Regions from separate parts of the Homo sapiens genome. Here regions 1, 3, 4, 5, 6 and 7 are each linked to region 2. The links are contacts of gene promoters, found by promoter capture Hi-C in blood cells and fetal thymus (Javierre and others, 2016). All regions are on one chromosome and are shown on one strand. Each heading gives the region's core, a stretch centred on a gene start or on the middle of the fragment in contact. The rest is flanking DNA. Distances are from core to core; before and after follow the strand shown. Region 1 overlaps SETX (senataxin). Region 2 holds the start of NUP214 (nucleoporin 214). Region 3 overlaps TTF1 (transcription termination factor 1). Region 4 holds the start of TTF1 (transcription termination factor 1). Region 5 holds the start of GTF3C4 (general transcription factor IIIC subunit 4). Region 6 overlaps SETX (senataxin). Region 7 overlaps SETX (senataxin).

Region 1 (3,545 bases), core at 525-3,024, 1.2 Mb after region 2:
TTCACATATGTGATCATAACACAGCATAGCCTCAAACTCCTGGGCTCAAGTGATCTTGCCTCAGCCTACCACGTAGCAGGGACTACAGAGGCACAGGCCACTGTGCCCAGCTCTTTATCTATTTTATTAGGTATATGCATTCAGAATTGTCATATCTTCTGTTGAACCAAAATACTCCCTTTTTATCTCAAATAATGCTTTCTGAGCTGGGCATGGTGGCTCACGCCTGTAATCCCTGCACTTTGGGAGGCCAAGGCAGGCGGGTCACCTGAGGTCAGAAGTTCAAGACCAGCCTGGCCAACATGGCAAAGCCCAGTCTCTACTAAAAATACAAAAATTAGCTGGGTGTGGTGGTGAGCACCTGTAATCCCAGCTACTGAGGAGGCTGAGGCAGGAGAATTGCTTGAACTCGGGAGACAGAAGTTGCAGTGAGCCAAGATCAGCTACTGCACTCCAGCCTGGGCGACAGAGCAAGACTCTGTCTCAAAAAAATAATAATAATAATAACAACAATAATAATGTTTTCTGCCTTAATGTCTATTTAGTTTGATATTAACAGAGCTAAATAAGTTTTTTTTTTTTAATTTGGATATGCATGGTTATCTTTTACTTACAATCTTTATGTATCCTTATATTTAGATGTATTACCCACTAACAGCATATAGCATGCCCAGATTGGTGTTGAAATACTGCTTTCAACTAAAATATAGCAAGGCTCCTTAGAAAACTGTAAGCTCAGTTATGGGATAAAAACAATATATATGATGAACTTGGAACATCTTGTCATAGCACACAGCCTCAGAGCCAACTAGAAGGAGCTGACTGAAATGGACTGAAACACAAGCACACCAATCCATGCACTCATAGTTCTTTTTTAAGCTTACCAGTCACCACTGGCACTTACTAGTGATTTTTTTTTTTTTTTTTTGAGATGGAGTCTTGCTCTGTCTCCCAGGCTGGAGTGCAGTGGCACGATCTCGGCTCACTGCAACCTCCGCCTCCAGGGTTCAAGCGATTCTCCTGCCCCGGCCTCCCTAGTAGCTGGGACTACAGGTATGCGCCACCATGCCCAGCTGATTTTTGTATTTGTAGTAGAGACGGGGTTTTGCCATGTTGGCCAGGCTGGTCTCGAACTCCTGACCTCAGGTGATCTGCCCCTCGGCCTCCCAAAGTGCTGGGATTACAGGCCTGAGCCACCGCACCCGGACTACTAGTGAATTAAACTCGTTATTCTGAAAACTGGTCAAGCAGCAAGTATTTATACTGCCTTTCCTTTATAAACTATGCTACTGAGTAACCAAATAGTAGTAGAGAATTTTCTCTCTAGAGAAGTATTCCAGCTAACATAAAATGATTAAAGTATCACCATTTTGCTCCCTTTAATGAATTAGTGACTAAGTACAAGCAGCTGTGATTATCAGAAAAAGAAACCAGATACCACGTACCTGCTGCTGCTGATGGAACATACCACCAACTATAAAATAGTTTTGCCAAAAACAAGTAACAAAAATTTACCTGAATTGGATCAATCCTCTAGTTCCAGGTATCAATATACAGGAAACACACAGAGGACAGAGACACATTCTAAACACCACCAAGGGGATGCAATATCAGCAAAATCCAGACCATGATTAACTCTATAAAACTAATTTTTCAACAAAAAAATTGCAAGGGAAGAAAATGAGAGAATTCTAGTTTAAAAAGACCTATCAACCAATGCCATTGGGTGGACTACTTTGGATCTTAAGCTGAAAAAAAGTGTTATGAGATAACTGAAAATTTGAACACTGACTGATATGAAGGGATTATTGGTAACTTTTTAGGTATGACTTATTTTTAAGCTCTTATTTTTTAGAGATAGTCACTAACATAGTCACTAACTGAAGATGACATGCAAAACCTCTCCACAGAAAACTATAAAACACTGAGAAAAATTTAACCTAAATAACTGAAGATATATACCTTATTCATGAATTAGAAAGTATTAAAAGTTGTCAATTCTTCCCAAATTTCCACTTCTTTTCCTCTAAAATTTATATGGAAATGCAAAGGGCCAAGAATAGCCAAAGCACTCAAAAAGTAGAGCAAGGTAGGAGGGGTGAGGCGCCGTGGCTCACACCAGCACTTTGGGAGGCCAAGACGGGCAGATAACTTGAGGCCAGGAGCTTCAGACCAGCCTGGCCAATAGGTGAAACCCCGTCTCCACTAAAAATACAAAAATTTGCCAGGCATAGTGGTGCACACCTGTAGTCCTAGCTACTCGGGAGGTTGAGGCAGGAGAATTGCTTGAACCCGGGAAGCAGAGGTTGCAGTGAGCCAGGATCGCGCCACTGCACTCCAGTCTGGGCGACAGAGCAAGATTCCATCTCAAAAAACAGAACAAACAAAACAAAACAAGGTAGGAGGACTTGCTCTGTGAGTTATTAAAACTTCTTATAAAGCTAGATTAAGTAAACAATGTGATATGAGCCCAAGGGTAGGCAAATGATCTCAAGAAGAACAGACTGATGCCCAGACATTAAGTGGACTCCAGACGCATGACAAACATAGCAGTGCAGTGAAGCACAAATGGTCTTTCAATAAATAGTACTGGGATAATCAGACCTCTACTTGGGGGAAAAAAAAAAAATGGAACCCAACCCACATGCCTCAGTCAGAAACAAAACAAGAAAGCTTCTAGAAAAGGGGTTCCCAAATTTCCTCTGTAAAGGGCCAGATAGGCTTGTGGGGCCACACATAATGCCTGTTACATACTCTTTTTTATAGAGCTTTAAAAACGTAAAAACCAGCTGGGCGAGGTGGTTCACACCTGTAATCCCAGCACTTCAGAAGGCTGATGACACAGGAGGATCACTTGAGACCAGGAGTTTGAGATCAGCCTGGGCAACGGCACAAGACCCCATCTCTATATTTAAGAAAGAAAAAAAAAAGGGGGAACATAAAAAATGTACCCTAGGGCAATACAAAATCAATACATGGGGTAGGTGGATCTGCGAGCTGTAGTTTGCTAACCTTTGTTCTAGAAGGTAAGAGAGATCCTGATCCATGGGTGATGGGGGTGGGGGCAAAGGAAGGCAAGAGAATGTAATTTGCAACCTGTAGCAGAGAAAGATTTCTTACTCTTCATTTAAGAAACGGGACACAGAGCACTGACAATAAAAGACTGATGTATTTACTATGTTCAAATAAGCAATTCTCAATAAGAATGAAAAAGAAATTTTTAAGACATCACTAAAAAGAGTCAGTATGTAAGTCAAAGTGAGGAAATGACTTCTACCCAGATTATATAAAGAACTCCTACAAATCAACTGAAAAAAAGACAACAGAAAATGACCAAAAGCCTTGAACAGGCACTTTCCAAAAGAGGTTACTGAGACAGCTACTAAATATGTGAAAAGATGCTCAATCTCCCTAATGAGGACATTACAAAAGCCCACAAAACACCATCAATACACACAGCCCAACAGCTAAAAATCTCAAAACAATCTATACAAATGTGTTGCTGAAGACACAGAAAAATGCAACTTCTCATATACTGCTGGTGG
Region 2 (3,997 bases), core at 1,285-3,784:
TCAGGTGGATGAAGTATGTGTGTGCGTGTGCATGGGAGTGTGCGTGGACTGGGATATCATCTCTACAGCCTGCAAATAAACCAGACAAACTTACCAACGTCTTGATTGGTGTATTTTGGGGCTGGTTCTGGGCTCAGCAAATTGCGAACTAGCTAATATAGTAAGAGATTAAATGAGCATGTCCTGTGCCTTTTGTCTGAGACAGCTGAAATTCACTTATCCTAACCACCTCCCTGCAAGAGACAGGTTCTATTATGTCATCCTTGTTTCACAACTGAAAAGTAGGCTTGAATAAGCAATGTGCTGCAAGCCAAACAGTAAATGGCACAATCCGACCCCCCTGGAGCCAACCCATGAGGTCCAAGTTAAGAACCTCTGTCGGCCGGGCGCGGTGGCTCACGCCTGTAATCCCAGCACTTTGGGAGGCTGAGGTGGGCGGATCACGAGGTCAGGAGATGGAGACCATCCTGGCTAACACGGTGAAACCCCGTCTCTACTAAAAATACAAAAAATTAGCCGGGCGTGGTGGCGGCCGCCTGTAGTCCCAGCTACTTGGGAAGCTGAGGCAGGAGAATGCTGTGAACCCGGGAGGCAGAGCTTGCAGTGAGCCGAGATCGCGCCACTGCACTCCAGCATGAGTGACAGAGTGAGACTCCGTCTCAAAAAAAAAAAAGAACCTCTGTCCTAGAGCATTTATAATTCACTACAGAAATGTATTCTATGAAGGACTTTAATACCATCAGTCAGCCTTATCCAGACGATCTCAATTCTAATCCTGTCACCACCACTTTCTGACTGAGGGCTATTGGAGAATTTTCTCAACTTCTCTGTGCCTCCCTTACCTCATCAATTATTATTATGTATGTGTATGTGTGTGTGTGTATATATATATATATGTGTGTGTGTGTATATATATATGTGTGTGTGTGTGTGTATATATATATATATATATATATTTTTTTTTTTTTTTTTTTTTTTTTCTGAGACAGAGTCTCACTCTGTCACCCAGGCTGGAGTGCAGTGGCACAATCTTAGCTCACTGCAACCTCCACCTTTTGTGTTCATGCGATTCTCCTGCCTCAGCCTCCTGTATAGCTGGGAACACAGGCGTCCGCCACCACACCCGGCTAATTGTTGTATTTTTAGCAGAGACGGGGTTTCACCATGTTGGCCAGGCTGGTCTCGAGCTCCTGACCTCAGGTGTTCCACCCACCTCGGCCTCCCAAAGTACTGTGGTTACAGGCGTGAGCCACTGCTCCCAGCCTATTTTTATTTACTTTTTTTTTTTTTTTTTTTTTGAGACGGAGTCTCGCTCTTTCGCCCAGGCCAGACTGCAGTGGCGCTGTCTCTGCTCACTGCAACCTCCGCCTCCCGGGTTCACGCCATTCTCCTGCCTCAGCCTCCCGAGTAGCTGGGACTACAGGTGCCCGCCACCGCGCCCGGCTAATTTTTTGTATTTTTAGTAGAGTCGGGGTTTCACCGTGTTAGCCAGGATGGTCTCCATCTCCTGACCTCGTGATCCGCCCGCCTCGGCCTCGCAAAGTGCTGGGATTACAGGCGTGAGCCACCGCGCCCGGCCTTTTATTTACTTTTTGAGACAGGGCCTGGCTCTGTCACCCAGGCTGGAGTGCAATGGTGCAATCACAGCTCCCTGTAGCCTCAACCTCCTGGGCTCAGGCAATTCTCCCACCTCAGCCTCCCGAGTAGCTGAGACTACATACGCATGCCATCACTGCTGGCTAATTTTTGTGGTTTTGTTTTGTTTTTTATAGAGACGGGGTCTCGCCATGTTGCCGAGGCTGGTCTCAAACTCCTGGTCTCAAGCAATCCTCCTGTCTCCGCCTCCCAAGTGCTGGGATTATAGGCATGAGCCACCCGCGTCTCATCAATTAAATAAATAACCCCTAGGACGACTAAGATGTCTTCAAGATTACATGAGATCCCACATCTGAAGGTTTTTGCAAAGGACTTGGCACAAACTCGTGCGACTAGACATGGATATGGCTCTTGCTCTGGAAAGGATCACCTTGATAGGAGCAAACAAAGCTGGTCTTCGGTGCCCTTTAATCTCCCCTCCCAGCCTTCCACCTTCCACACTTTAAGAGTCGTCCCTGCCGACCCCCCGACCCCGTTTTTCTGAACCTCCCTTCCTCCCCTTGCATAGTCCAAAGCCTCTCTCTAAAGCAGCCCCCCGAAAACATCTGTCAAGTTCCAAACTTATCTGAATCGGAAGCTACCAATAGCCAACCTACATCTAAGGGGAACTGTAAGATTTCAGAAGAACAAGAAGCATAGGTCGCTTAGGCGTGGGCCACCCAAGAAGAGAGACTTAACACTAGGTAAGCCCGCGCTGGCTGCGAAGGCGGGAGCGGCACCAGGACCATCCAGGGCGCAGGCGCAGGGACCTCACGGCCACGCCACTACTCAGCCCGAGCTGGCCAATGGGGAGCGGCGGCCGGAAGAACGCGCGGCTTCGCTAGGTTCCGCGGCTTCCTCTGACCAAGCTTGACGTCACCAAAGCGCGCCGGAAATGCGAGGTCAACTGCGCGCCGCTGGCGCTGAGGGGAGGAAGTTTGCTGTCGAGCGGCCTGGGTTCCGTGGGCAAGGCCGTGGGAGGCAGCGTTGGCTGCTTCGACACACTGAGGGCGGCGCGATGGGAGACGAGATGGATGCCATGATTCCCGAGCGGGAGATGAAGGTCAGAGACTAACCGGGGCCTCCCTCCCTTCTTTAGTCCTGGCGTTGCCTTGGAGCCCAGCTGAAAGGCGAAGCGCGGTGCTGGCTGTCCCGCCTCCTGCTTGAACAGTTTACCGCGTTCACAGCTCTCACCAGCGCGTCTGCCGCGCCGCTGGCGTGATAGCCCCACCGAATGCAGTTTCCCAGTCCCATCCTGGTCTCGTGCACGGCTGTTGAGTTACCCTAGCTACTTCCTGGGGCGGTCACAATAGTGGCAATAACTGCTGTTTATTGAGTGTTGACTGTGTGCCAGGCACTGTGGTAGTCATCGCGGCAGCCCTACGAAGTAGTCGTTAACGTAGAGGAGTAAGTTGAGGCTCGGAAAGTAATTTCCCTAAAGTCACATTTGACGCGGGGCTGAAAGCCAGCATCATTTAAGACCTTTGCTCTCCCAGTACTTCTGTAAGGTGATACGGGCTTGCCTAACGTAGAGTCAGGGAAGGTCATCCATCCTGCAGAACCTTTAGTTGATTGGACTAGGAAGACTATTTTGACCTCGGTATATCAGCCTAAAGTCAGGAACCTAAAGGGAGGGCCAAGTGGTCCCAGTGATAGCAACGTGGGAGTCCCCCAGGGATAACTTCAGGATGGTGTGTTTAATAGTTCTTATATGGGTTCTGACAGAATGAGGGTACAACAGACGGGCTACATCTGTTTTAAATAGTGAAAAGAAGTAAGTTGCAGGAAGATTTTAGGCATCTGTGTGAACAATAAATCACTAAAATGCATTTAGGGCATAGTAATACCATGTTTAGAATAGTGATTTTTTTTTTTTTTTGAGACAGAGTCTTGCTCTGTCACCCAAGCTGGAGTGCAGTGGCATGATCTCGGCTCCCTGCAACCTCCACCTCCCCGGCTCAAGCGATTCTCCTGCTTCAACCTCCCTAGTAGCTGGTATTACAGGCGCCTGCCACCACGCCCCACTAATTTTTTATATCATTTGGTAGAGACTGGGTTTCACGATGTTGGCCAGGCTGGTCTCGAACTCCTGACCTAACGTGATCCGCCCTCCTCTGGCTCCCAAAGTGCTGGGATTATAGGCGTGAGCTACCGTGCTGTCCTAGAATAGTGATTATTTTTTGAGAATCACCACCTGTGGTGAGCCACCTAATGGGGTTGTGTCATATTCCTCAGATATGCTGGGGTAGAAGAAAAAAAGGTTTTATTAATAGAACCACAGACTTAGAAGATGGTAATCTCGCACTCCCTTTGGCAGCACATATAAAATTGGGATCATGCAGAGAAGACTATTATGGCCCCT
Region 3 (3,877 bases), core at 225-2,724, 1.3 Mb after region 2:
AGAAGGAAGAGACGGATTGTCCTTTCTTGTTTGGTTATAATCCCAAACCATAAATAACTAACCACCAGAACCAGTTTAAACCCTCCCTAATGGTTCCGCAGAATATTGACTAGAAACAAAACAAAATCTTTCCTAATGGACCAATGGCGACCTCACACCAGTAGCCACACTTCTGGAAGTCAGCCAGGCTGCAGCAGCCTCACCCCACTGTCTACCTTCCAAAACCAAAGGCCAAACAATCCCTCAACATCCCTGCATCTGAAAGTCACTGATCCCCGAGCCCCATGATGCTCGGCAACACGTAGAGGGCCTGTGCTCTGCAGCCCAGCTCTCCCTTGCGTAGCAAGCAGTAAGTTGAGATATCGAGAGTGGTGGGCCCTCCAATCGCAGGAACTGATTAAAATGCAAGAGCTATGTGCAGTGAAGGCTCACAGTGAAGGGAAAGAGAGACAGCTTATAAACACAAGAGCCATGTTCAATCTCACTTCTCACATGAGAAATGCAAATGAAAACCACAAGGAAACTGACAGAAGCTTAAAGAGGAACAGGATCTTTATATAGTCTTAAAATGTCTTCCCACAGCCATTTCTTACCACCAAAGGAAGAACCAGTATTTTTATACAGTGGGGAAAAGAGGCAGATGCTGCCTTAGCTAAATAATAAAAAAAAGTCAAAACGAGAATTATGTACCTTGTGACGTAATGCAGTGATAGCAAACATCAGGAATATGCTGTACTCCTGCCCGAAGGACACAGCCTGAATCTCCTCAAGAGGAAATACCAGACAAGTGCCAACTGCGGACATTCTACAAAACACCTAGCCTGTATTCCTCCAAAATTTCACTACCATCAACAGCAAAGATGGACGATCTTCATAGATTAAAAGACAGTAAGGAAGGCCGGGCATGGTGGCTCACGTCTGTAATCCCAGCACTTTGAGAGGGATTAAGGCCAGGAGTTCAAGCATAGCCTGGGCAACATGGCAAAACCCCATCTCTACTAAAAATACAAAAAAAAAAAAAAAAAAAAAAAGTCAGGTGTGGTGGCTCACGCCTGTAATCTCAGCAATTTGGGAGGCTGAGGTGGGTGGATCACTTGAGGTAAGGAGTTTGAGACCAGCCTGGCCAACATGGTGAAACCTTGTCTCTATTAAAAATACAAAAATTAGCCAGGTATGGTGGCAGGTACCTGTAATCCCAGCTATTCAGAGGCTGAGACAGGAGAACTGCTTGAACCCGGAAGGTGGAGGTTGCAGGGAACCGAGATCACGCTGTTGCACTCCAGCCTGGGCAACAAGAGTGAAAATCCGTCTCAAAAAAAAAAAAATTAACTAATTAAAAAAAAAACTAGCCAGGCAGGGTGGTGCATGCCTCTAATTCCAGCTATTTAGGTGGCTGAGGCACAAGAATTGCTTGAACCTGGGAGGCAGAGGGTGCAGTGAGCTGAGATCACACCATTGTAACTCCAGCCTGGGCAACAGAGTAAGACTCTTGTCTTCAAAAAAAAAAAAAAAAAGGACACTAAGGAAATGGAACAATTATTAAAGGGGGAAAATGCTATCAAGGACATTACTGGGACAACTGGTGAAATCTGAATGTGGACTATGTTTTAGAGGGTGTACTATATCAATGTGAAACTTCCTGATTCTCGATTGTACTATGGTTATGTAAAATAACATCCTTGCTTGGGAAGTGGTATCTGCCACTAACTCTTGAATGGTTATGGGAAAAACCGTATTCCCTTGGAGGAGGGAGAGAGGGATGATAAAGTGAACGTAGCAGAATGTTCAGAAGAGGCGACTATGGGTAAAGGGGATGCGGGGTTCTTTCTGTTACTCTTGCAACTTGTTTAGCTTTTTGAAGCCTTTAAGAGACTTTGCATACATTTCATTTGCCTTTCTTGGGTGTCTTCGGTGGCAGGTGGGCTGGAGGGAGGGCTGGTCTGATTTATTTGGTCCAGAGCACAGAGACTGGAAGTCTCGAATAAACACACACATTGCAGCTTTCCTGTTCTGTGGCGCTGGCACACCACCCTGCAACCACGCAGTGTTTCCTCACCCAAGACTGTATCTTGGCGCTTTCTTTGCCCCACCACCGAGGGGCTTTCTCATGATTTTTTGTAGCTATAAAGAATGTCACTATATGGGTAAAATACATATATAGCCAGTCCCCTATTAACAGGCCTTTTGCAGTCAGTTACTCTGTATACAAGTCATTTCATGTATGTGTGAAGTTGTTTTGTAGAATGTATTTCTAGAAATGGAATTACTAGAATTATTTGAATTTTGAATGGTACTAAGGCTGCAAAGTATGTAAAATTTACCAAAACAGATAACAGTAATTGGAGGGAGTGAATGTAGATGTTTAATAAGGACGGCTGGATTTTGACAGTTGCTGAACTGGGGTGATGGGTACATGAAGCTTCATTTATTTTGTATCTGTCTAAAATTTTCCTAATAAAGTTTCTGAAAAAAATAATTGGGCATTGCTAATAAAGCAGTACTTAGAAGAAAACATATGGCCTTAAATGTATATTACAAAGAAAGAAAAATGGAAAATGAGCTAAGAACCCATCTCAAGAAGTTGAAGAACAGCAGCAAAATAAACTCAAAGAGAGCTGAAGGGAGGGCGTGATAAAGAGCTGACATTAGAATAATCACAAGATAGGGTCAACGCAATCAAAGCTGGTGCTTTGAAAAGACAATCTCTGGTAACTCCTATTCAAGCAGTAACAAAAGAGAGTAGGTATAAATAGCCAACATTAGCCATCAGAACATCACTCAGATCCTGCAGACATTTTGCATAAACCATCTACGGAAAATAGATACTGGTTTCCTGTAGGGCTACGCGTGGCTGGTGAGTGGTAAGGGGACACTTTTCACTGTGTTTCCTTTCAGGTTTCTTTCTTTCTTTCTTTTCTTTTGAGATGGAGTCTTGCTCTGTTGCCCAGGCTGGAGTGCAATGGCATGATCTCGGCTTACTGCAACCTCCGCCTCCTGGGTTCAAGCGATTCTCCTGCCTCAGCCTCCTGAGTAGCTGGGACTACAGGCACCTGCCATCATGCCTGGCTAATTTTTGTATTTTTGTAGAGACGGAGTTGAACCATGTTGGCCAGGCTGGTCTTGAACTCCTGACCTCAGGTGATCTGCCCACCTTGGCCTCCCAAAGTGCTGGGATTACAGGCAAGAGCCACCGTGCCCAGCCTACGTTTCTTTAATTCTGGACTACGTAATCTATTACCTATTCCAGAAAAACAGCAAAATCAAACTGAACAGTCAAGTCCTTTTTCCTTATGGGTGGGGCATGATATTCAGTTCTGTATTTGAATTGTTACACACAACTAAAACGTTCTAACTGGGAACCGACCAAGTCATTTAACCAGCGCTAAAGCACGGGGTCTCGGCAGGGTAACACATCTGAGTCACCTGGAGCTCTGAACAATCCTGACAGCCAGACCCCACACCAGACCAATCCCATTCATGCGAAGCCAGACCCCACACCAGACCAATCCCATTCACGTGGCACTGGTATTTTTTAAAAGTTCCCCAGATGATTTTGAAGTGAGAGCTGGGCTGAAAACCAGAGAATTGCTAGTGTTTACAAAGTTCCAAATTGGGTACACAAAGGTAACTGGAACTCCTGGATGTCTGGAGCGTGTGCTGAGTTGTCAACTGTCTGAAGTCCCCTGAGGCGTGGGAGTCTGGCCTGCACACGCACCCAGCCCATCGCTGCCGTCATTTTACTCACTGTTCTGGGCCACCTGGTCCCTTTCCAGTCCCTTGAATGTGCCCAGCCAGTGCTGGCTCAAGGTGTCCGCATTCACTACTCTCTGTCCGAACATCTTCAGTCTCATCCCCGCATGGCTACCCTGCCACCGCT
Region 4 (4,067 bases), core at 1,472-3,971, 1.3 Mb after region 2:
CCCACTGGCTGATTTCTTTTCTTTTCTTTTTTTCTTTTTCTTTTTTTGGAGACAGAATCTCGTTCTGTCACCCAGGCTGGAGTGCAGTGGCACGATCTCGGCTCACTGCAACCTCCGCCTCCCGGGTTCAAGCGATTCTCCTGCCTCAGCCTCCGGAGTAGTAGCTGGGATTACAGGCGCAAGCCACCAAGCCTGGCTAATCTTTGTATTTTTAGTAGAGACGGGGTTTCGCCATGTTGGCCAGGCTGGTCTTGAACTCCTGACCTCAGGTGACCCACCTGCCTCGGCCTCTCAAAGCGCTGGGATTACAGGCGTAAGCCACAGCGCCCGGCCTTGATTTCTTTAAATAACATTTCCCCTTCCATCAGTTCCTTTCCTTCTTTTTTGTAAATACTTCCTAGGCTGCTCTCTGGTCTCTGGAGCCCAGTACAACCTTCTAAATATATAGTCTCTCCCTGCTAAAAACTTTTTAGGGTTCCCCTGTTATTCTTAAGATAAAGTCAAAATCCTCACAGACCTGCAAGAGTCTTCATTTCTTCATAATCTAGCCTAGAGATGGACAGAGGTAAGTCCATGCCCACCTCTCTACCTCTCACTTCTCTCTAGGTTTCAGAAACCCTGCTGTTTTCAGTTCCTAGAATACACTACCTTCCTTTTCGTCTCAGGAACTTTGCAAAAACAGCCCATTCCATCAGGAAAGCTCTTCCTCCGCATTACCTTTCTGCCCTTTAACTGGTCCAAGTATGAAAGCCACTTTCTCAAGAGGACCTCTCTAACTCCTTAGCCGGTCTCATCTTTCTGGTTAACAGTGTTTCCCAACAACCAGCTGCTCCCCATTGCACTTTTGGCAGTTATAATATGATCGGCTTCTTGAGGGCTGGAATCCTGGCCATCTTGCTCCCAAATGGCTCCCCAGTCAGTGCTCGATACATATTGAGAACGGATATGCATTTATCCCCCCTTACTCAGAACATACACTTCCCGCTCTGCAGGTACGTGCCCAAACCTGGTCCCGGATTCTCTCACCGCCTTTGGGGTGCGAGAGAGACCCCGCTCTGCTCCCGGGTGGGCGCTCCAGGGCTGAGACTGGAGGAACTAACCAGATGTGAATTCTGCATCTTCTCACTCCCAAAGACCCAAGCCGCGGCCGGGCGCGGTGGCTCACGCTTGTCATCCCAGCACTTTGAGAGGCCGAGGCGGGTGGATCACCTGAAGTCAGGAGTTCGAGACCAGCCTGGCCAACATGGTGAAACCCTGTCTCTACTAAAAATACAAAAATTAGCTAGGCTTGGTGGCGGGCGCCTATAATCCCAGCTACTCGGGAGGCTGAGGCAGGAGAATCGCTTGAACCCAGGAAGCGGAGGTTGCAGTGAGCCGAGATCGCGCCACCGCACTCCAGCCTGGGCGACAAGAGCAAAACTCCATCTTTAAAAAAAAAAAAAAAAAACACCCAAGCCTCAGTTTCCCCGAGATAAGGCCTGGGGCAAAGACCGCGGCCTGGAGACCTCAGGCCAAAAGGCGGGTCTCCCAGAAGACGGGGAAACCCACCACCCCACGCTGAGTTTTTACGCGCGCATTTTGAAAAACAGAAACAACAAAGGCGCTTTCAACTTACCCTCCGAAAGCGCCGCCACCTTTCTCCCAACCCGGAAGTGCTGCTGTTGAGGAAGCGGAAGTAGTAGTGCGTCGCCTTCCGGCCCCCTCGGCGTCACGCTGCCATGGTAACACGGCTGCCGCTAGGCCTTGGAGGCGCGCACATTTGCCTACCCATTTTCCTTCTGGGTCCTTTAGACGTCAGGTGGGGTAGAGAGTGCTCCTGAAACGAAGAAAGTAGGACAGAATCCCCCTCCATTGACGTACTAATGCATGCGTGCATTCCATTTATTCCAGTTTTTGGTGAACTCCAGGAACAACTTGGGAAGACAGATGACAAATCAACTAAGATAATTTCAGATTATCTTGTAAGGAAAATAAAACAGGGTGACGTGATGGAGAGTGACTAGGGGACGGTGGGTGCTACTTTAGATGTAAGAGAGGGCTCACTGAGGAGGTGACATTTGAACTGAGTTCTAAATGGAAAGGGCAGGCAAAAAATCTAGGCAGAAGAGTGTTCCAGGCTGGAAGTGAGTGCAAAAGTCCTGAACTTGGTTGCTGGAGGACCTGGGACAAGGCCAGAGCAGCTGGAGCACAGAGTGAATCCACACAGTGAACCCACAGGGTGACAGACAGGTCGCACACGCCCAGCCTAAGTGAATGCATGTGAATGCAGGGGAGGGGGTGGGAGAGGAAGTCAGAGGTCTGCAGGGGCTATCTGGTGCAGAGGCTGATGGATGTTAAGCTTGGATGAAGTCTCAGAAGTTTAGAGTTAGCAGGAGCTTTGGAGATCTATCCCAGTCTTCCCATTTCAACAGAGTCCTGAAGAGACTTAGCCAAAAGGGCAGCTTTAACCTGGCCATCAATTCGAGGCCATTATATTTACCAACCAAACGTTTAACCTTTTTGGATAGTGAACATATACGATATAGGCAACAAGTTTTCTCACTTAATCCTTGTAATGAGGTATTATTAGCCCCACCTTGTGGATGAGAAACCTGGGTTTACAGTAACTTGTCCAAGGTGACTTAAATGGGCCAGCCAGAAATCAGACCTATGCTCTTTCTACTACTCCACTATCTTGCCCCTCACTGTTCCACCTGACTTCTATGTGATCTGCCAAGTGGCTTTGATTAAAAAATGCACAAACTATGCTTCCGTGAAAGTCTGGAAGGGAAGCAGGTTGGAGAAACGATGAGCCTATGTATGTACTCATGTTGCCATGCAAGGGCTGCTCTGGGATGTGGACGTGCAGTTGGAGCTCCGTCTGGAGAAGTCTGTAAATGTGGTGTTGTCCACTGTTGATATGGAAGGCCTTGAAGTCCAGGTCCGTCATTGGTGTCACGTGTTCTGTGGTGACCCCACTTACCCAGAGCCTTGTGGTGCTAGTGATGCATGAATGAACCCACAAAAGGCTGGCACTAGAGGAGAGATTAGATATCATCCAGTATCGATTCAGGAAAACTCCAATAGTGGTTTCCAATCCTCCTCCAACTGCACCAATCACCTGGGAAGCTTTTTTTTTTTTTTTTCAAATGCAGAGTCTCAACTTTGCAATGGATTTTATATTAAACACTATTGTATCACATTAAAATCTTCGGACATGATAATGACATTGTAGTTACACATGGGAATGTCCTTGCTACATGATGACGTACTTAGGGTTAAATATGGTGTTGACAGATATTTTTCAGGTGATTCTGTAATGTGTGTATGTGCATGCTCACAGAGAGAGAGCAAGAAAATGTGACCAGTGCTGGGGACGGGTGAATCTGTTAGTCCAAACTGCACCATTTTGTAAGCCCCCTGCCATTTTGCAGACCTTGCTTAAAGTGAAACATTCCACGGGGGTTCAGGCAGTGAGAAACAGCCTGCCTCTTATCATATTCTGCTGGGAGAAAGTGACAGGAACATCACGTTCCACCAGAACAAGGGCCAAACTGCCTCATCATGGGAATACCTTATCAACATCTTCCCGGGCAGCAGGCCATACCCACCGGGCCCCTCCCCGCCCAGGCCTATAATTTCTCCAGCCTGTAAGCAGCGGTAGGCACTGGCATTAAGCTGGTCTCCCACCTCTGTAGGTCTCATGCTGGACATAAAGCCTGAATTTGCTGTAGAGCCGCCACTCTTTCTTTAACCCTCCCCTTCCCTTCAAAATCTAACCGAATCTAGGTGAAGCCTATATGTATTTTCATTGTATTCTTCTTTCGACTTTCAACTTTTCTGTAGGTTTGAACTTTTTCACCAAGTTGTGGGTGGGTGGGTAAGGGGATTTTTAAAAATGCAGCATCTGGCCTGGTGAGGTGGCTCATGTCATTATCAGAGCAAGACTCCGTCTCTTAAAAAAAAAAAAAAAAGGAGAGCCTCAGATGCCATTTCCAGATATTCTGATTTAGTGAGTCTGGGGTGAGTCCTGTGAATCTTCGTTTTTCTTTTTTTGGCACATGGTCTCATTCTGTCATCCAGACTGG
Region 5 (3,977 bases), core at 400-2,899, 1.5 Mb after region 2:
GAACTAAAGCCTGTCTGGGTAGCTCCCTAACAGGCTCTGGAGCTCAATCCCTGGGCAGGGAAAAGGGGGTCCTCGGGGCTCCCCGCTCGCTGTCCTTTTTCTGGACAGGCAGTTCCTTGGCCACCTGGTAGGGCCGCGTTGCCTGGCAACGGCGGGGTCCTTCTTGGCTCGGCGGCGCTCGGGGCCTGAGGGGAGAAAACCGCCGCGGAGGGCGCTGGGGGTGGCGGCGGCGGTCCGGGAGGTGGTCGCGCGACTGCGTGGAGCGCCAGGGCGTCCGACCTCTGCACCTGAGAGAAGATGAACACGGCCGACCAGGCCCGGGTGGGGCCCGCGGACGACGGGCCTGCGCCGTCTGGGGAGGAGGAGGGAGAGGGGGGCGGCGAGGCGGGCGGGAAGGAGCCAGCAGCGGACGCGGCCCCGGGGCCCAGCGCTGCATTCCGCCTCATGGTGACTCGGCGGGAGCCGGCCGTGAAGCTGCAGTATGCGGTGAGCGGCCTGGAACCGCTGGCTTGGTCCGAGGACCACCGCGTGTCTGTGTCCACGGCCCGCAGCATCGCTGTGCTGGAGCTCATCTGCGACGTGCACAACCCGGGCCAGGACCTGGTTATCCACCGCACCTCGGTGCCCGCACCGCTCAACAGCTGTCTCCTCAAAGTAAGTCATCCCCCGCCATCCCTGGGGTCTTCCCCTGTCCCCCTCTCGCGGCCGCATCATCCGTCCCAGGGGAATCCGATCCCACACTCTGTCCGGGGATTTCCCTCTTCGCACCGAGCGCTGGGGATTTATTAAGCAGCCAGGGTTACCACAGCTTAAAAAAAAAAAAAGAAAAGCTCTGCAGCTGTCTGCACCCTGTTTCCCCAGGTCACCCGCCGCCGCAAACACAGGTACACACCCAGGGGGCTTCCCGGAGTTGAGTCCCAGGAACCCCTCCTTCGCCCCTCCGTCGGGCCCGCACATGGAGCGGGTTACTCGATGGTGCTTTCTGAGACTCCACCCCCTGTAGATCCAACCCGGGGCCTGCCTCTGTCGTTGCTGCTATTGTTTGGGGCCGACTTTCCGAGGTTCTTGGCTGGCTTTGTCTACTGTGTGTGTCCTCCTCTCGCGCCTCTTTAGCTTCAGAAAAGAAAAACTGGTCCCATCCATTGTCTTAATTGTTTCAGTGACTTTATTATGAATGGTCCTCGCCTCTCCTTGGGCAAACGGGTAAATACTGGATCTCGGGGTTTGTACTTTAGTTTTTCTTTACTAGCTAAACATCTTTGGGATGTTGAATGAAAATAAAGATTCGAAACAACTACCTATCTTAAACTTCAAGCGCAAGGTCAAGTAGTAAGCCATAGCGTTCCTTTTAGTTGCTTAGAGGTGTAAAAACTTTCCATATATCCTTGATAGAGGTGTACGCTTACATGTGAACTGTCAGTGTATATTCATACATTCAATAGATATTTGAATACCATTCTGCTTGGTGCTGCCCCATGTTCTGGAAATAAAGCAGTGTACAAAACAGAACCCCTGCCCTCATGAAGCTTACATTCTTTGGCAAGTCAAGCACAAATGATAAGGTCCTGTCAGGTAGTGATAAGCACTGTAAAGATGTGTATCCGCACATAGAGAACATGTTTATGTGTTCGTAAACTCTTATTTTGGAAAACCATTGAAAATATGAGTCATTAGCTATAGGTAGGGTGCAGATAACCCTCATCACTTTGTAGCATACTTAATTCAAGTTTCAAACATCTTTCTGTTGTTAGATTGTTAGTCAGCTTGTATGACTAAGCTTCCTCTAAGATCTTCTTGAAGAAGATATGAACACATTTGTTCAAGTGTAAACAAATCAGATAGACAGATGCAACCCTATGAAATTGAGAAATACAAAAGGAGGGAGGCAGAAGAAAGGTGATTTAAAAGGTGTATCTTCTGCTGTAAAGGAATTTAACTGTTTCCAAGGATGTTCATCCGCACAGCAACTCAAGGAAAGTATGTATGTCAGTATAGTAGACATCGAATACCTTAGCAGAGAGAATGTAAAGAAAGGAGGGAGTAGTAAGGGGAGAGACTTATGGGGCAGGTCATCTGGTGGTGAATCTGCAGCAGTCCTAAAGAAGGTAGTGTTTGGTTTGTAAGAGGAAGGAAGGAAAGGGCATTCCAGGCGGCAGGAATGAGGCATTCATCCCATGTGCATACACGTTTAAGTCATGAACATAATTAATTATTGTTTGTATAATGACGGATCAGTACATGAGCTCAAGTAGGTCTTCTAGAGAGTCCGAGAAAGTAAGATGAGACCAGTTTGTGGACTTGGAAGGTCGGTATGAGGAAGTTGGCTTCAATCTAGGAAGTCTTTAAGATGCTGTTACAGTTTCATTAGCATAGAGTGACCTGCTGTGGTTCAGGAACATTACTGGATAGAGGCAAGAAGATGATTGTTGTGATCAGTGTAAAATAAAAGTGAAGAGACTGGGCTTTGGCACAAGATAGGCCTATCTATAAAAGGGGGATAATGAAGCGTTGTTTAGGTTTTTTGGAAGATTAAACACACATAATCACTTGGCCCAGTTCTTGGCACGCTGTAAATGCTCAAGGTGAAAATATAATGAGTTGGGCCGGGCGCGGTGGCTCACGCCTGTAATCCCAGCACTTTGGGAGGCCGAGGCGAGCGGATCACGAGGTCAGGAGATCGAGACCATCCTGGCTAACACAGTGAAACCCCGTTTCTACTAAAAATACAAAAAATTAGCCGGGCGTGGTGGCGGGCGCCTGTAGTCCTAGCTACTGGGAGGCTGAGGCAGGAGAATGGCGTGAATCCGGGAGGCGGAGCTTGCTATGAGCCAAGATTGCGCCACTGTACTCCAGCCTGGGCGACAGAGCCAGACTCCGTCTCAAAAAAAAAGAAAGAAAATATAATGCAGTTATACAGGTATGAAGGAGTAGGAGTCTGGATTAATGTCGTGGTTGTGGACATGAGTATTCTGATAAAATTTTGACTGTCATTTTGCCTCAGTTAACATTTACCACAACTGCTAACTAGTAACAGGAAATCCTTATATAGCTCTCTTATAGTTGACAAATGGCTTCTATGAAATTAATTAGTAACATCTTCCCCTTCTGTACTGTTGTTTTTTTTTTAATATGCACATCACATAAACCATCAGTCATTTAGCAGTCTTTTTAGACTGATTGAAGTGAATGAATGCTGAGTTGACCCTGCAGTTCTACAAGAGCCCTCTGTGGGTTAAAACTGGTGTGACGGTAGGAATGTAAAGAAGTCTGTGTCAGCACTTTGATGACTCCACCCATTGGCAGTCTGTGGATTTAAATCTGCTCGGTGCCGTGCAGCATGCCTTCGCGCTAACCTAAATGGTGGACAGTCTGCAGCGCAGATGACAGTTTTAGTGTAGCACTGTTAGAAAGCTAGGTACTAAACACCTTTGAAGCTTTTGCTCTATAATTCTGTTATTTAGATTATGAATTTGCAGGAAAATCTGCAGTTATGTAATAGTTCAGACATTAATTATCAGCTGTTTTATAAGATTGTATGATATAAAGGTGGACAGTATAAATCTGAAAAGCAATGAAATAGTGATTTAAGAATGTCAGAATTGTTTTTCCCATTGGACTACTGATTTAGTGACTCATCTAGTGAGACATTTGTGTATAGTTCCAAATTCTGATAATATTTGTGTACCGAATTGTATTGTGCATCAATTGTTAGGAGCCTTAGAAAGTATTAACTTCATCTGCTACATTAAGTTAAATAACTGTTGCCTGTCTTTGGACTCTATTACCTGTCCTCAAGAAGCTTACTGTCTAAAAGCTTCAAGTGAATTTTTGTCAGGTGCTTACAAAATGCCTAACAGTTAGTATTAAAAGTATTTGCCATTAAAAGTGATGGTGAAAACCGCAATTACTTTTGCACCAACCTAATAGTGGTCAACTGGAAACTGGATGGTGTACAATTAAATGATTGGCTGCGGGCA
Region 6 (3,666 bases), core at 1,167-3,666, 1.2 Mb after region 2:
ACATCTGTACTTTCACAATCAGAAAGTCTTCGTCTATTTTTTTGTGATTTGGGTCTGATCTGCCTTTGCATCTGAAGTTCTTGACTAGTCAGAAGTTTCTTATTATTTCTGACAGACAGGTTCTGAGGAGAAATTAATTTAGTCTTTTTTCGGGTATCAACTACTCCAACAGTTTTGCCATGATCACGTAATTGAGCTACATAATCCAAAGACCGCTGGGACAACTCATATGCCTTACGAGGACCCTTTTTCAGGCCAAGTTTCTCAGCTGTTGAAGTTGGCTCAGGACACTGACGAAATTTCTTTGGCGGCACTATAGCAGGAGTTGTTCTACAACTTAGGTAATTTGAACTTCTATTCTGTCCTTTTTTGGCATCTGAATGAGTTTTCTTAGGGGTCTTAGAAACTGGAACTTTCCTGATGGGTTCTGTACAAGTACAAAGCTTTGAAGACTTCTTTTGTGAAACCGTAGTGGCTCTCTGAATACGTGAATTGGGAGTTGAAGTCCTTCTATCAATACTTTTAAAATCATTTCCCACAAGATCTCTCTTATTAGTATCAGACTGGCCCTCATTTCTGACAGAAGATGAAGGCCTCACAGGATCTTCAGCCATTGGTTTTTCAGATCGTTTTCTCTTAGGCTTTTTTACTTCAATTTCACAAAATTCTTCAACAGAAATACTCCGTGGTCTTGTGTGTTCTTCAATGCCCTCTGCTCCTTTTTTAACAACTTCAGATACATAATCTGTACAACCCTGACCATTTGTAGTATTGGCTATAGGAGCCAAACATTTTTTCTCACCATCTTGAACTGAATTATTATCGTCTGGATGATCTTGCCAAACTGAAAACACTTCAGATGAACTTTCAAACTCAAAACACTGAGAATCAGATTCCTCAAACTGAAAAAGAGTCTCTGTCTTTTCTTCCTTTACTGGATTCTTTTCCTCCTTACTATTAACTGTTGAAACGTGCTGCTCTGGATGTTCCCTCTCAAGGCATATTTTGTCCTGTTTAGTGAGTTTCTCAAGACTCAGGATTCTTTCATCATCATCATCATCAGAATCTGAAATAATAATAACCTGTCCACGGGAGGTATCTCCAACATTATTTTGGTTAGCTGTGAAACATCTTTTATCTTCTTTTACTTTCCTTTGCAGCTGCGATGAGTTCTGAGGTGAATCGGATGGGAACGTAATAACACTGGCTTGAGCTAGTAAAGATAATTTGTGAAGGTCTCTGTCTATCTGAGAATCCGTTAAGGTGTCAGATTTAGGACTGATGTCAGGGGCCTGTTCTCTTGTCAAGTTAGAATAAATCACACTGGTACTATTACTCATCTCCTCATCTCTTGATTCAGGTACAGTCATAAGATCTTTAAAGGGAGATGATTTCTTCTCTGAAGCATTGGTCATTTCTGTAAAAGGGATCAATTCTTTACCATCAACATGAAATTCCTGTATTTTACAATTGTTTTCATGGAAAGAGAAAATAACTAATTCTTCATTCTTTAATTGTTTCTCTTTTGGCAATACATTGTTTTGAGATTTTTGTTCTCCATTCTTATCATCCAGAACACCACTAGGGTCTAAAGAAAGATTGTGTATGAAACCATCTCCTTTCTGAACTCCTGTATCTTTCCTTGAATAGAAACTCTCAATGTTAGATACAGTCAAATTTTCATCTAAATTGATAGTATTATCGACCAAAGTACTCTTCCTGTGTTGCTTCTTTATTACATGTGATAACTTTGCACAGATTTCATCTTTCTGTACCTTAGTTTTTCGTTTTGAGGTTTTAGCAAGAGCATCATCCTTTAAAGAGAAATCTTCATTCGATGTGGACACTTTTTCCAAAGCATCAGTGCTAGAATCAGTCAACAAACGTGTTGATACTATTATTCCTCTGTCACATCCCCTTTCTGGACCATTTCTTGAAGTACAGTCCTTTGGTGTATATGAAGAGATCTCTTTTACAGACTTCTGCTTCCTTGTACTTATTTTAATTTGATCTTCAGCTCTTTCAGTAAAAATGTTTTTACTACTCTGCTTTAAGCATGACCCAGCTAAGAGATGGTCCTCTAGTTTCACATCCTTTATATAATTTTGCTCATTATTGTCACCTTCTATAGTGTTATCTGCTTTGATCAATACACTGTCTTGCACTTTCATTGGTTCTTTAGAAAATGTTGGGCTGGAAGCTTCCAAACAATGCATATCTTTTCTAGACGTCTTCCCCATTTGTTCACTTTCTTCTTTATTATAAGATGCAGGAGAGATTTTACATGCAGAAGTCAGATCCACAAAAGTGTTACATGGAGGTGCTTTGAATTTTATGTTTCTAATAATTTGCTTTAAGCAACTTTGTAGCTCATGGGTTTCCTGACTAGTCAACTGCCAACCTAGAGATAAATTTCCTCTAAGGAATAAGTTGAGCTTATCCCAGAATCGCTTGCAAAGAGACTGCTGCCCAAGCTGATAACCTTCTTTAAGGAGACTTCTAATCAGCTGCACATAAGCAAGTTGTACAGAGTTAGATGGCATGGAATGCAATGACAGTGAAGATATCATTGCTGTTCCTTTGGAGCAATTTCCAGATGATTTCTCAGAACTCCGTGTAAACGCAGTGGTAGGAAGCTTGGCACATTTGACGACGGCTTCCACCCATTGCTGGGAACTTACCCACAGCAAATGCAAACATTTTTTATTTCTATGCAGTTCAATCACTGATACCAAAATTAGAAGAAAAAATTCAGTGACTTTGTCACACACAGCATCTGTTTGGTTGAGGACTTCTTTGACTTCAGAGTACAGATGATTAACAACCTGTGCTATGTAAGCCACACCCAAATCCTTAAGATCCATGAGGGACTGGACAAAAGGGATGAACCATAGAAATGTGCTGTTATGAACACGCATGTCTTGACCAATATCTGACTGAAGTACACTGGCTAATGTTTCCATTTCTTCATACATGTTAGGACAATAATCTGGGCAAATGGCTGTTCTCCATCCAGAATCCTAAAATGAAAGAAATGCTGATGTTCAGATAAATAAGCACCACTTATGACAGGTTCAACACCCAAGTCGTTAAGAAAAATACGTTTCTCAACTCTCTTATTTTGGTTTACCACATCATTATTATGCTATACAATGGTATAATTGTGGCATATAATTATATCACAATCGTAATACACCTAACTCCCAAGAAAGTGAAAATATAAATTGAATTTTGAGTTTTCATAAAAAGACAAATTGGTAACACCTTTATGTACTCTCACCTTCTGTCCACTAGCTAGTTTTGATTTCTAGTCATGCCATGTATGTCCCCATAAACTTTCCATCTTCCCTAAATGTACTTATAAGTTAATTTTCCAAAGTATGCATACTGTAGTTAGAGTCCATCTTCCCCAACACACAATACATCTGCTGTTCAATGAGAAGGGCTTTTACATAGCAGTAGATTGAGAACAGCTACATATCACAAAATCTGCAACTCAACAAATTATACAAAATAGTCTACACAATATAAAGGCAATAAAATAGCATCTGAATTTTCAAAGTGTTTTATACCTTTTTGGTCTTTTCAGGATTATAATTGTATACGATCTGGCTGCAAGTCACCATATCATCCAAATAGGACTCCGGTTCTAACTTGGTCCTTAAA
Region 7 (3,975 bases), core at 438-2,937, 1.2 Mb after region 2:
TAGTGGTGCATGCCTGTAATCCCATATTCGGGAGGCTGAAGCAGGAGAATCGCTTGAACCCAGGAGGCGGAGGTTGCAGTGAGCCAAGATCACGCCACTGCACTCCAGCCTGGGCAACAACAGGGAAACTCCATCTCAAACAAAAAACCAAACAAACGAAAAAAAACAAGAAAACAAAAAATAGTATGCTATGTTTAAACACTTTTTATTTTTTTTTGAGACAGAATCTCGCTGTCGCCCAGGCTGGAGTGCAATGGCGTGGTCTCAGCTCACCGCAACCTTGGCCTCCCAGGTTCAAGCGATTCTCCTGCCTCAGCCTCCTGAGTAGCTGGGATTACAGGCGCCCACCACCACGCCTGGCTAATTTTTGTATTTTAGTAGAGACGGACTTTCACCATGATGGCCAGGCTGGTCTCAAACTGCTGACCTCGTAATCCACCTGCCTCAGCATCCCAAAGTGCTGGGATTACAGGTGTAAGCTACAGCACTCAGCCTTAAACACTTCTCTTGTAGAAGTTTTCTATAAATATCTCAACATCCCTATCAACTACATTCAAAAAAAAAAAAAAGAGAAGCTGGAGCCTCTCTGTCAAATGCAAAACCGAGGCCCTTCTATGTCTTCCCTTCTATGTTCTAGCCATAGCTAACTACCTTAGTGCAGCTTGTGGTATAAAAGACGCTGGATAGCTTCATAATTAGAAAACTTTATAAAGTGCACGTTTCTCAACACAAGTCCATTACTAATCATCCTCTCCTCTATATACTGTATATATCTCTATGGTCTACGTTCTGTTTTTCATCAATAAATAAACCAAATATTCAAAGCCAAATATTTAGAATTATATCTTTCACTTTTGTTATCATGACTGGAAAATATGCTTGCCCTTAAAGGTTTATGCCATTTGCCCATTAAAAAAAGAAAAAAAGAAGTTATTATTACCAATTAAAAAAAAAAAACCCTGGCCAGGCGCAGTGGCTCACAGCTGTAATCCCAGCACTTTGGGAGGCCGAGGTGGGCAGATCACCTGACGTCAGGAGTTTTGAGACCAGCTGGGCCAACATGGTAAAACCCCATCTCTACTAAAAATAAAAAATTAGCCGGGTGTGGTGGCACGTGCCTTTAGTCCCAGCTACTTGGGAGGCTGAGGCAGGAGAATCGCTTGAACCCACCTGGGAGGCAGAGGTTGAAGTGAGCCAAGATCACGCCACTGCACTCCAGCCTGGACAAGAGAGTGAGACTCTGTCTCAAAAAAAAAACAAAACAAAAAAAAAACAACCCACTAACAAAAACCCAGGCCATTCAGATACTCAGATACATGCATGTATTATAGCACTGACCAAAAAATTATGAAACAAATCCCCTCCCAATGACTTTATTTCATTAAATTATTTTATACCAATGTGACTAAAAGCAACAGATCATAAAATTCTGATCCAGGTTTCAATTCCATCCGTGATAAACATTTACTCAGCACCTAGTATATACCAGGCAATGAGTTAGGTACTTGACTTATATTAGCCTTCAAAGTCGGCCAGGCATGGTGGCTCATGCCTGTAATTCCAACACTGGGGGGCCAAACCGGAAGGATCACTTGAGCTCAGGAGTTCAGGACCAGCCTGGGCAAAATAATAAGACCTCGTCTCTACAAAAAAATTTTAAAAATTAGCAGAGCATGGTGGCACATGCCTGTAGTCCCAGCTACTCAGGAGGATGAGGTGGGAGGATGGCTTGAGTCCAGAAGGTTGAGGCTGCAGTGAACCGTGATCGCACCACTGCACTTCCAGCCTGGGCAACAGAGCAAAGACCTTGTCTCCAAAACATAGCAAAACAAACTATGAAAACCCATGTGGCCCATGGAAAATCATGAGACAGCACTTCCACTTTCAGGAATTTGTCCTAAGAATATACTCGAATGTGTAAAATGATATATGTATAATCACTCCACTGCACTCCAGCCTGAGTGACAGAGTGAGACTCCATCTCTAACAACAACAAAAACAAAACAAAAACAAAAAAAAAAACCCACAAAGTTGAAATCGTATCATCATTTCTCTGAATACTTCCAACGGAGTTCAAACTTACTCTCTTCCCAGCTATCAAGCTCTGAAAAATATTGCCCATCTAATATATTTTACCTCATGCAAGAATGGCAATTCATCTCTTGCTTTGTGGTACTCAGCCACACACTCCAAGCAGTAGCAGAGGTCTTCGTCGGCTGTTTGAAATTCACCGGACGGAGTGTTGGAAGCATAGCGCTTTAGGAAGTCAATGGTGGAAGCACCACCTGGCGTACACCAACAACATGTGCTCATTCTGTACCTACAGCCAGAAAAGATGACATCAAGAAGAAAACCAACTTCAGACCTACTGTGTGTCAAGAATAGGTACACTTTCAACTTGTGACCCTGGTTTCAATTTAAAATGTGTCACTAAAACCCAAATCTTCTGCTGGCTGGCTTATCAATCACTGATTCACTAAACTAAAAAAATCCTTCTATTTTTGACATACGAAAAATACAGAAAAATAAAAGCATTGTATAAGGAATAAGTATCATAAGGCAACATAAAGTTGTGCTACAGAGAAGGCTCAAAACAACACAGTACCGATAGAAAATATATAGAGACCCAGACTTACCAATATTTTCAAAGTACAGATTTTGGAATGGGGAAAAAAGTTACCAACTACAAACTTAAGTTCATTTCATAAACTGAATGGACCTAGCTCAGCATTCTCATCAGGAGTGATGTCACCCTCAAAGAGATCTAAAACTAGTTAGTGGGACGTGAAAAAGCCCTCCTCTTTTTAGATATAAAGCTCAGATAAACATACAGTACATAAAGAGAGACACAATATATTGGTGGTAATAAAATTCACAGGAGAGGCAGTTTTTAAAAATGTTTAAAAACTCTCCACTCAGGGAGAAAGGTTAGAAGGAGGTTAAAAAACCTAAGTAAGCTGGGAACGGTGGCTCATGCCTGTAAGCCCAGCACTTTGGGAGGCCGACGTGGGCAGACTGCTTGAGGTCCGCAGTTCGAGACCAGCCTGGCCAACATGGTGAAACCCCATCTCTACTAAAAAGAATACAAAAATTAGCTGGTGGTGCGCATCTGCAATCCTAGCTGCTTGGGAGGCTGAGGCAGGAGTACTGCCTGAACGTGGGAGGCAGAGGTTGCAGTGAGCCAAGATTGCGCCACTGCACTCCAGCCTGGGTGACAGAGTGAAACTCTGTCTCAAAACAAACAAACAAAAGAAACCTAAGTGAAGACACTGAGTATGTGGGAATGGAAACATGGCAGTGTGAGATTTTTGAGTATCACCGTCACCCTAAAATTCAGAATACATAATCTTTACCAACAGGAAATATAAAACATCTCAACAGAAACTAGGCTTGGCTGCTGAGGCTTCTGTGGCATAAAGCTAGTTCCTAAAATAAAGTGATTTTTTAAAATTCTTTAATTTCTTCTTATACCCACAATTAAATAATTATTTAGAAATGCATAAGCATAATCAAATACATTGTCATATGAATTGATTTTTTAAAATTTATTAAATATTACTTTTACTTATGCTTTTGAAGAGGTATACTTTCTTCATGGTTCTAAAAAGAATTTAGGGTAGCTTTCAACATTAAAGTACATACACACAAAAGGACATTTAAAAATGAGATTTCAAAAAACAAAATCAAAACTTCTTTAGAAGAAATTTAATTTCACTAAGTTCTACATGAGGAGCTTCCTGAAAGCAGAGAAAAAGGATAACATGAGTTACACAGTTCTCATCGACGTGGGGGGGAAAAAGAGTATGCAGTGATAGCCGCAGAGTACCGCCCTTTCCTGACACAAACTCTAACTCAATTACATTTTATTAATGCCTTCTAGTACAAGGGCACTGCAGACTAGGAAATGCCAAGTAACATGGGATAAGGTCTTCAATGTATTTCTGCAGAATTTAAAATTATTTTATTCAAAAGAAG

Evidence for each region. Contacts are between HindIII fragments. The CHiCAGO score rates a contact against its expected background, and 5 or more counts as called.
Region 1: a contact is called between a fragment that was not itself captured here and the fragment with the promoter of NUP214 in region 2, in 1 of 17 cell types (M2 macrophages). The highest score is 7.0, in M2 macrophages.
Region 3: a contact is called between a fragment that was not itself captured here and the fragment with the promoter of NUP214 in region 2, in 2 of 17 cell types (monocytes and naive B cells). The highest score is 6.9, in monocytes.
Region 4: a contact is called between a fragment that was not itself captured here and the fragment with the promoter of NUP214 in region 2, in 3 of 17 cell types (monocytes, activated CD4 T cells and total B cells). The highest score is 7.1, in monocytes.
Region 5: a fragment that was not itself captured here is called in contact with the fragment with the promoter of NUP214 in region 2 in 2 of 17 cell types (total CD8 T cells and non-activated CD4 T cells); the score reaches 6.4 in total CD8 T cells.
Region 6: a contact is called between a fragment that was not itself captured here and the fragment with the promoter of NUP214 in region 2, in 1 of 17 cell types (M2 macrophages). The highest score is 6.0, in M2 macrophages.
Region 7: a fragment that was not itself captured here is called in contact with the fragment with the promoter of NUP214 in region 2 in 13 of 17 cell types (monocytes, total CD8 T cells, M2 macrophages and 10 more); the score reaches 14.7 in monocytes.

Annotation. Positions count from the first base shown.
Region 1 is chr9:132,306,769-132,310,313 of GRCh38, forward strand. All of the region lies in intron 11 of SETX (senataxin), which reads right to left. Among named protein-coding and RNA genes, the nearest start is that of SETX, 46 kb to the right of the region's middle. The HindIII fragment of the contact is 1,794 bases long and covers 878-2,671 here.
Region 2 is chr9:131,123,052-131,127,048 of GRCh38, forward strand. NUP214 (nucleoporin 214) reads left to right here and starts at 2,535. Exons shown (of 36, transcript NM_005085.4): 1 at 2,535-2,698. The coding sequence starts at 2,654. It overlaps AIF1L (allograft inflammatory factor 1 like), which reads left to right. Exons shown (of 6, transcript NM_031426.4): 6 at 1-93. It also overlaps the pseudogene RNU6-881P. RefSeq lists an enhancer at 2,434-2,733. The HindIII fragment of the contact is 3,004 bases long and covers 2,503-3,997 here.
Region 3 is chr9:132,381,754-132,385,630 of GRCh38, forward strand. The region is part of intron 9 of TTF1 (transcription termination factor 1); the gene reads right to left. Among named protein-coding and RNA genes, the nearest start is that of TTF1, 23 kb to the right of the region's middle. RefSeq lists enhancers at 508-667, 2,085-2,134. The HindIII fragment of the contact is 1,886 bases long and covers 532-2,417 here.
Region 4 is chr9:132,405,175-132,409,241 of GRCh38, forward strand. It overlaps TTF1 (transcription termination factor 1), which reads right to left and starts at 1,666. Exons shown (of 11, transcript NM_007344.4): 1 at 1,616-1,666. The HindIII fragment of the contact is 770 bases long and covers 2,337-3,106 here.
Region 5 is chr9:132,670,302-132,674,278 of GRCh38, forward strand. GTF3C4 (general transcription factor IIIC subunit 4) reads left to right here and starts at 163. Exons shown (of 5, transcript NM_012204.4): 1 at 163-654. The coding sequence starts at 298. RefSeq lists enhancers at 1-406, 92-171, 3,266-3,315 and a silencer at 322-451. The HindIII fragment of the contact is 251 bases long and covers 1,525-1,775 here.
Region 6 is chr9:132,327,480-132,331,145 of GRCh38, forward strand. SETX (senataxin) reads right to left here. Exons shown (of 26, transcript NM_015046.7): 9 at 3,573-3,660; 10 at 1-3,020. Among named protein-coding and RNA genes, the nearest start is that of SETX, 26 kb to the right of the region's middle. The HindIII fragment of the contact is 436 bases long and covers 2,199-2,634 here.
Region 7 is chr9:132,347,116-132,351,090 of GRCh38, forward strand. It overlaps SETX (senataxin), which reads right to left. Exons shown (of 26, transcript NM_015046.7): 3 at 2,137-2,320. The coding sequence starts at 2,313. Among named protein-coding and RNA genes, the nearest start is that of SETX, 5.9 kb to the right of the region's middle. The HindIII fragment of the contact is 4,966 bases long and covers 1-3,975 here.